Regions from separate parts of the Homo sapiens genome. Here regions 1 and 2 are each linked to region 3. Evidence: promoter capture Hi-C in 16 types of primary human blood cells and fetal thymus (Javierre and others, 2016). All regions are on one chromosome and are shown on one strand. Each heading gives the region's core, a stretch centred on a gene start or on the middle of the fragment in contact. The rest is flanking DNA. Distances are from core to core; before and after follow the strand shown. Region 1 has its middle 23 kb from the start of CTAGE1. Region 2 overlaps LOC124904260 (a long non-coding RNA gene). Region 3 holds the start of GATA6-AS1 (GATA6 antisense RNA 1 (head to head)).

Region 1 (3,032 bases), core at 153-2,652, 270 kb after region 3:
TGTTGACTCAGAGTTTCAGCTATGTCCCCCAAATCTGAGAACAAATACAAGAGTTGTTTAATATCTCCCCATCCTGCACCTCTTGGGTGGCACTAGACTGTCCATGCAGGACAGGCTAAGAAATTGTGAAACCCTCTGCCAGAATTGGCCCATCACTCCCCTCTAGGATATAAAAGAGAAGACAAAGAATTCATTGTAATTAAAGAGGTCTGTGTTGAGGTTTTTTTTTTCTTTTCTTTTCTTTTTAAAGAATGGCTAATGGGCCATGTATTTCACCCATGGAAGAAAAAGAGAGAGTCTTTGAAGTAGGGTTTTAAGAGTACTATTTGAAAAGCTTGACATGGGTCCCCTGGTTAGAGAGAGACAGGCCTGGTATCTGATTGATCCCTGAAAAGAGTAAAGGTAAGAGGCTATGACTGGCCAGGAGCTCCAAGATAACAAAGCCAAGGGAAGAAGTTGATTAGAAAAGCTTGACTTCCTCAGTTGGGAAGGGGAAAGAACGTGTAAATTTCCTATGGGCCAAATATTGGGTCCAAAGAATGAAGCTGGATTATATCATTTTGAGAGGAACTATGTTGGTCATATGTGACTCCTAACAGAGAGACAAACTCCTGGAATTCATGGTGCTAGTCATTAGCAGCCAGTAAGAGGAGCACTGCCTATGTGAAGGTAGCTGTATGTGAGAGATCCTAGCAATAGTCAAGGAGAATTACAGAGGAGAGGACCCTAAGGACCTCATAGGAACACCCCAAAAAAGAGTGCATCTTCATAAGGAGTCTGCTATATGCAGAGGGCATCTATTCTAGGTTACAACTGCACCAGCCAGGTAAGACTTTTCTGTCCTTTAGCTGTCCTCTCTATTCCTACTTTCCCCTAACTCCTAGCCTGTGCCCAACCTTGGAGATGGTTAAAACAATAGCTTGCAAATAGGTGAGTTGGTGGAGCCAGACATGGGAAAAGAAGTTGGCCAAAGTGCCTATTTCCACTGCAGGTTTCCAAACCACTGGGGAAGGAGACATGTGTATTAGGCCATTCTTGCATTGCCATAAAGAAATACCCGAGGCTGCGGTAATTTATACAGAAAAGAGGTTTAATAGGCTCATGGTTCTGTCAGCTGTACAGGGAGCTTTGTGACAGAACTTGCTCAGCTTCTGGGGAGGCCTCAGGGAGCTTTTACTCATGGAAGCCAAAGGGAAAGTCAGTGCCTCAGAAAGCAGAGCACGAGCAAGAGAGTGAGTGGGGGTGGGGCACACACTTCAATGACCAGATCTCATGCGAACTCAGAACAAGAGCTCAATCATCATCCAGGGGATGGCCCAAGCTATTCATGAGGAATCCACCCCCATGATCCAAACACTTCTCACCAGGCCCTACCTCCAACACTGGGGATTACATTTCAACATCAGATTTGGGCAGGGACAAATAAACACCCAAATTATATCAACATGTTTTTGATTAGACCACAAATTTAAGCTATGCATTTATTTTATAGGGCTGAACTTCTATTATGTAAAAAATGACCAGATAACTATAGACATGCTTGTGATTAAGCTAGCAATGGAAAAAAACAAGTCAAAAGAACAGATTTGAAGGGCCTGTTGTGGGAAAGAATAAGGTGGCATTCTAATTGATTTGAGAAATTCAACACATATACATGTACATATTTATGCACATACAAGGCCACAGCCTCATTTGTGTCTTGCCACATCTACTCATGCCACCTCTGATGAGTTTTCATCCACCAGCAATGTGAAATTTTTTGAAAAGCAAATCTTATCAAGTGATCTCTGCCTAAAATCCCCCAGTGGCTCCGTATCACTCCTAGATTAAAGACCCACACCCAGACCCTAGAAGGTTAAGCTATCCTTACCAAGTTCAACCAGTAGCACACTCCTTCTCATTCTATGTGCTCTCATTTTTTCCCCCAGAAACTTGTACTGCTTTCCCACCTCACCTTTGCACGTAACTCTTCCCTCTGCCTGGAATATAGTTTTCTTTCTTCTTTGAAGCCTGATCCTTCAAAGGTCAATTGTCCTTTCCTCAGAGAAATCTGTGTTGACCTTCCCAGGTCAAATTTCCTTATTATATAATCTTATATTACTATTTACTTCTCCTTTACAGCTTATATCACAGTTATGTTTTACATTATGTGATATTTGTTAGTATGTGCATCCTCTACTTGACTGTAAATGTTATAAGGGCAGTTACCAAATCTATTTTTGTTTCCCATAGAATCACCAATACCTGCTACCAATAGGGGGCCTGCTACCAAGTAAGTTATTGGATATTTGAAAAGTGAATGTGTGGCAGCCAAAATATATAATGCACCTATGAATAAGCTTAAAGAAATGTGTCCATATGAGAAAAACTACAAAAATTTACAGAGGAAAATATAAGAAATGCTTAGGTACAAATTTAGCAAACATATTTATTACCTATATGAGAAAAAACTTTGATGAAAGAAATCAAAGAACTAAGTGGAGAGATATCCCATATTCATGGATAGGAAGACTCACTATTATCAAGATGTTGATTCTTCCCAACTAGATCTACAGATTTAATACAATCCCAGTCAAACTCCCAGCAAGTATTTTTTGTGGCTATCAAAAAACTAATTCTAAAGTTTATATGGAGAGGAAAAAGACCCAGAATAGACAACACAATACTGAAGGAGAACAAAATTGGAGAACTAACACTACCAAACATGAAAACTTACTGTAAAGTTACAGTAATCAGCACAGTGTGGTGCTGGTGAAAGAAGAGACAAATAAATCAATGGAACAGAATAAAGAGCCCAGAAATAGACCCACACAAACATATTCAACTGATCTTTGACAAAGAAGCAAAGGCAATACAATGCAGAAAAGATAGTTTTTCTAACAAATGGTGCTGGAACAACTGGAAATCCTCTTTAGAGAAAAAAGAATAGAGGAGAGGAGGGGAAAATTTTTAAAAATTTAAAAATTTTAAAAAAGAATCCAGACACAGACCTTATAAACTTCACGAAAATTAACTAAAAAAAAAATCACAGA
Region 2 (2,908 bases), core at 168-2,667, 290 kb after region 3:
GAACACACACAGTATCTATAGATGAAAAGAGAATGAATGAAACAAGAAAAGCAAATAAATTAGGTTTAAAAAAGCTTTACAGCCGGGGGCGGTAGCTCACGCCTGTAATCCCAGCACTTTGGGAGGCCAAGGCGGGCGGATCACGAAGTCAGGAGATCGAGACCATCCCGGCTAACACCGTGAAACCCCATCTCTACTAAAAATACAAAAAATTAGCCAGGCATGGTGGCAGGCGCCTGTAGTCCCAGCTTCTCGGGAGAATGGTGTGAACCCAGGAGACGGATCTTATGGTGAGCCGAGATTGAGCACTGCACTGCAGCCTGGCTGACAGAGCAAGACTCTGTCTCAAAAAAAAAAAAAAAAAAAAAAAGCTTCACTAGAAAAATATTGCCACAAAACAGATGACATTTATGACCCAACATACTTTCATGAATTTAAAAAGAAAAGAAAAAACTTAGTGAAACAATCGCCTTTAAAAAACAGGAGCTCAAAAAAACATATACAGTAGTTTAGGAAATATTTAGCAAGACAATGGGAAGTGAAACATAAGTTGGCAGAACTTAGCAAAAATGACAACCTAGAAACCAAGACCACAGTGGAAGCAGCAGAACGGAGACTCAGATTCTGCTGGAAACTGACCATATCCAAGTCCACAAAGAACATGTTACTAAACTTCAGAAATTAGACTGAGTCCAGAAAAGCTTCTCTGATCACAAAGCAATTCATTTAAAAACTAATAATAAAATAAGGAAGGAGAAAAATTCTACCACCTGGAAATGCTAAAATATTCTTTCATGTGCAACTCTTCCATTAGGGATATATTTTTAAAAATAAAAATAATTAAGGGTTATATTTTTATAAATGAAAATAATTAAGCTAGTACATATCAGAACCTATGGGACAGAGCTAAAGCAGAATTCTGGAAAAAACTTAAAGGTTTAATATTTATATTAATTTAACTGAAAGAAAGAAAACACCTAGGTATATATTTTTTAAAGCTAACATTTTGGTAAAAAGGAATGTGAGATGTGGGCAAAAAAAAAGAGATAAAAATAATTTTGAAAAGTGTAAGAGTAAAAATTTAACACAAAGTGTAAGTCATATAAAATGTAACTTTAAAACGTTATTGAGGAGAAAAAAATGAAAGAAATGGAAAGGCATGACATATTCTTAAGTAGGAAGACTTAAAGCAAAAAATTTAACTCTCCCAATGATATCTATAAATGGAATTTGAAGCCAATAAAAATATAGGATTTTAAAAAGCTAGATAAGCTGTTACTAAAACTTATAAGAAAAATCAACAGACATTCCATGTCTGGTAATAATGGACTTAGTTATTTAGATTAATTCTTGCAGTTAAAACAATGAATATTTGGATAACATATTAAACAAACTTGATTTTAAAAGCACTGAAAAGCTGACAAGATAATCAGGACTTCCCAAGTGATTAGGTTTTGCCCTGATTGGATTTTGCCCGTGGTTGATCAGGTTAAGTTGAGTTGGCTGTGGTTTTCATGGACTCTCAGAATGAAGAATACGGAAGTCAAAGGCCAAGACTCACCCAAGGTAGGAAGGAGGGTCTCATAGGAGACTCTTGCCTCACATTAAGCTGTGAGTCTGAAGGGGTTCACCTTCAGGGTAAGGACAAACCAAAGGTGAACCTGCTCCCCTTCCCACTACCCCAGGGGACCATGGGAGAGTTACCTTGACACTAAGCAAAGCAGAGAAAAGAAAAAGAAAACCCGTCCCTGATAGGACGTCATCACTGAATCATTGGCTGGCAGTATTTGCCCATATGCTGCTCAAATACATGTCTTTGGGATGAGCCAAGAAACTTTGAGCTATGAATTTAAAGTGATACACAACTACAGTACCCCCAAGCACCTGGCAGAAGCAAGCTCTAATCATCTCTGGAGGCAGATACTTTCATCCTAGGCCTCGAGGATTTTGTATAAATGGTTTCTCAAGGGCAGTAAGCAGTACAGTTGAAGATTACTAAACTCAGAAAACAAAGCACCAATAGTTAATGTCAGCAAAATAGACAGCAGAGGCGAGTTAGACAACTGCAGCTGTTTGAATGACCAGACACAGAGTACAAAGAGCTATGTTAATTTTATTTAAATAAATGTAAGGTAAGCTTTAAAATATCTGCAAGAAATAGTCAACAATAAAAATTGACATTGTGGGTTAGAAAAAGATCAACTAGCACTTCTAAAATTAAAAATAGAGTAACAGAAATTGAAAAGTCAGTGAATGGGTATGGTGGCAGATTAGACACTGTGGAAGACAGAATTAGAGAACTGAAGATAATGTGAATAAATTATACAGAATTATAGTGCAAAGAGGCAAAGAAATGAAAAATATAGGAGAGTGGTAAAGAGACGTAGAGGACAGAGAGAGAAGGTCTCTTTTTTCCAAGATGGTCTTTCTTCTCTTTCAAAAGTGTAATTGTTATTTCAGAAGATGAGAAAAAAGTGAGGTGGTAGGTTATTGAAAGAACAATAATAACTATTAAAGATAAGTGAAAAGAAATTTGCATCAAGGCACATCACAAAGAAATTGCAGAATACATAAACAAAGAGAAAATCTAAAAAGCAGCTAGCTAGAGTTGGGGTGCAGTGGAGTGTGATGATTAATGAATAAGACTACCCTACCAGGTGTCAAATGCATTGTAAAGTGGTATCAATTAACACCTCATGGTATTGGTATACGGGTAAGTAGATAGAAATATATATGGTAAACTAGTATATAACAGAAGTTGGTAGCTTAAATCAGTAGAGAAAAGGCAGCTTAAGTCAATAAAGGACACTAAAATATATAGACCTCTGAAAAAATATGTATATACTGAGATTCCAATGAACCCAAAATTTAGAAAGAAAAAAACCTCAGAAGAGTACTAGAAGAAAAA
Region 3 (2,982 bases), core at 483-2,982:
TGCGGAGCTGCGGGAAAAGCAGGTCCCCGGGGGGTATCGAGTGTCCAGGGATATCCACGCAGACATCCTTGTACTTGCAAATACAAAGAAACACACAGGACAGAGATCAGGCTCGCGCCAGGGCTCGATCTCCTCGGGGCTCAGGGTTGGAGGCCGTACACAGCCTGGACACAAACTGAGCCAAAGAGTTTATTTTTAGCAAATAAGATATGAGTTTTTAGAAAATTGCTTCGAATAGCAAATCCGAGAAACATTATTTCAAAACGTTGGAATCAAAGGAAATCAAATGCCCACAACCCATTTCCGTCAGTGCTTACAAATGAGCTTCTGCAAAACCCAGTCCACTTAAACATTTGGTCGGAACTCACGAAAAGAACCAAAAGCAAGGCATTCCGAGTCCTGGCGGGGGTTGAGCGGCCGGGCGGACGCCTGGCTATCTCTTCTGGGAGTCGCGCATTCGATCGCATTCAGGTTAAAATTTAAAGCCCCTGGATCCTGCTCCAGTCGCCAGCCTCTCCATTCCAGAGTTTTCTACCTTCAGCCTTTTCCAAATGCGGCCACGCTGAAACTGGGAGCCGCCGCAGTGATTGGGGGAGGCAAAGTGGAACGTAATAAAAGTGACTAAATTGGATGAGAACGGTTTCTGGACCTTCTCGGTAGCAATTTAAAATTCAGAAGTGTTTAGAAGCAATTTACAACGAAGAATGAAAAACGAAGAATTCTCGCCAACTTCCTGAATTCCTTGCCCCCTCCCCCGCACTGCCAGGCCCTGTCCCGCTCCCCCAGGAGCCACAAGTTCACAACTCACAGTTACGTGCAGAGGAAACAACGCTTAGCTACGAGGTCTCACCATCTCTGGAAACCATACTTTACAAGGCACCTCTCCACCCCAGTTCAACTCTGCACAGGCTCCTCTTCCTTCCCTAACTGGGAAAACACGAAAATAGAAACAAAACAAAAAACCAGAGCCTAAACGCTTTCTAGGAGACCGACCTTCAGAAAATCATTTACTTGGATTTACCTGGGCGGGGGGTAGGGGGTGGGGTCGGGGTAAAGTATAAAAATTCATTCTCACAAAAACAACGCCTCTTGTCCTAAAGTCTCCCTCGGCAGCCTTCTGGGGTCACGTCTGTCGGAAGAAATCCTTTCTGTAAGCGAAAGGGAGCGAGACATATATCACGGCTCCTGCAGCGGACGAGCCTGCGGCCGCGCGAGTTGCCGCTGACAGATCGGCGCTGATAACCCCGCGACGTTCATTTCCAGTCCCTTTTGCCCGCTAGGGACCGTATCAGTTTGTACAGAGTTGTGATAACTGTTTGGAGGGAGCGAAGAGGGGGTGTGTATATGAACGTGGGGGTGGGGAAGCAGCATTTAGCGCTGGGTCCAGGGAAGGTGACACCCCCTCTTCGCAGTGACTTATCTGTGACTTACCTGAAACTCTCCAGGGAAATATCAGAAACTCTCCAGGGACATCAAAAGTTGGAGAGCGTCCTCGGACACGACTGATGTGGAAGCCCTTTTCCATTCTGCGTACCCCATAGACTACCTTTCCGTACATGACGACCCGAGTTAAAGTTCCCAAAGGTCAGCTGGGGAATGTTGTCTTGAGGTTCCCGAAACCACCACGACCTGAGCCGTAGCATCCCGAGATAGGGTCGGAGAAAGTTTAAGGTCGGTCTCACACAACTTCAGGGCAAAAAGCGCATTTGCTGTGAAGGGGCTAGGCGGGGGTTGGGGGGCGGGGGGGCGCAGAGCACGTTCCCCCTTCCTTCTGGGGGCGTGCTGACCCAAGGTCTGGAGCGCCCCTCCCGCCGCGGCGGCGGCGCGGGACTGTGCACTGCCAACTCCTCCCGTGCCAAGGCTCCCTCCCCCTCCCTCGTGTGGGTGTGTGTGTGCGACTGCGGGAGCGGGAGGGTGCACCGCCGCTGGATGGGTGCGGGTCGCTAGCCAGGTCAGGCGTTCTGTGGCCTCCGCCCCTCCCCCGGGGTCCCTGGGCTCGGTGCCCCCCGGGTGGACTCGCCCCCACTCCGGGGACAGGGCTTGCGGCTCAGCCCACGCCCGCAGGCAGCGCGGCTCTCATTGTCTGCCTGGGCGGCGCGCTCCCCTCCCCCCTCGCCGTCCCCTCCCCACCCTCTTTTCTCTCCTCCCCTCGATCCCTCCTCCTCCTCTTCACCTCCAGCGCCCAGCTGCTCGCTGAGCGCAGTTCCGACCCACAGCCTGGCACCCTTCGGCGAGCGCTGTTTGTTTAGGGCTCGGTGAGTCCAATCAGGAGCCCAGGCTGCAGTTTTCCGGCAGAGCAGTAAGAGGCGCCTCCTCTCTCCTTTTTATTCACCAGCAGCGCGGCGCAGACCCCGGACTCGCGCTCGCCCGCTGGCGCCCTCGGCTTCTCTCCGCGCCTGGGAGCACCCTCCGCCGCGGCCGTTCTCCATGCGCAGCGCCCGCCCGAGGTTCGGCTGCTTCCTCCTCGCGCGATCTCCCCGCTTTCCTCCCCTCCACCCCTACTCGTCGCGGGCCCCTGGCCTCCGGCTCTCCGGCCCTCTCCAGGCCGCGGTCGGCTCCGACGGTGTTTCCCTCCTTCCCTCCGGGCGGGCTGAGGCGGCTCCCAGGCTCCCGGGACACCGCGGACCAACTTCTAGTCTCTTTTTCTCTCCTCGAAGCGCTTATCTGCGCGCAGCCTTATCTCCGAGTTATCTCGGCGCAAAGGGGCGGGAGCCGGTAGTTAGGCAGGCAGAGAAACTTCTTTCTTGCTATCTAGCCAGGTCTGTGTGTGGGCATTAATTTTAGTGTGGTAATCTCCGATGAGCCGAGGCGATTTGGAAGAGCAGCCTGGAGGAGGCCAGCCCGGCTGCATTTCACCTCCCTCCCCCACTCGCTCCGAGTCTCCCTGTCATTCTTCCTGCTCTCCCATTTGGGGTCGCCTCGGCTCTGGGGCGGTCTCACGCTCCCCCCTCCCCAGCCCGTTGCGTTCCCCCTCCTTTTCTC

What was found. Contacts are between HindIII fragments. The CHiCAGO score rates a contact against its expected background, and 5 or more counts as called.
Region 1: a fragment that was not itself captured here is called in contact with the fragment with the promoter of GATA6-AS1 in region 3 in 4 of 17 cell types (endothelial precursors, M1 macrophages, total CD8 T cells and 1 more); the score reaches 7.8 in endothelial precursors.
Region 2: a fragment that was not itself captured here is called in contact with the fragment with the promoter of GATA6-AS1 in region 3 in 1 of 17 cell types (endothelial precursors); the score reaches 5.9 in endothelial precursors.

What each region holds. Positions count from the first base shown.
Region 1 is chr18:22,439,582-22,442,613 of GRCh38, forward strand. No RefSeq gene overlaps it. Among named protein-coding and RNA genes, the nearest start is that of CTAGE1, 23 kb to the left of the region's middle. The HindIII fragment of the contact is 1,870 bases long and covers 468-2,337 here.
Region 2 is chr18:22,459,124-22,462,031 of GRCh38, forward strand. The region is part of intron 2 of LOC124904260 (a long non-coding RNA gene); the gene reads right to left. Among named protein-coding and RNA genes, the nearest start is that of CTAGE1, 43 kb to the left of the region's middle. The HindIII fragment of the contact is 1,436 bases long and covers 700-2,135 here.
Region 3 is chr18:22,167,236-22,170,217 of GRCh38, forward strand. GATA6-AS1 (GATA6 antisense RNA 1 (head to head)) reads right to left here and starts at 1,733. Exons shown (of 2, transcript NR_102763.1): 1 at 1,432-1,733; 2 at 1-1,148. It overlaps GATA6 (GATA binding protein 6), which reads left to right and starts at 2,354. Exons shown (of 7, transcript NM_005257.6): 1 at 2,354-2,447. RefSeq lists an enhancer at 1-502. The HindIII fragment of the contact is 8,900 bases long and covers 1-2,982 here.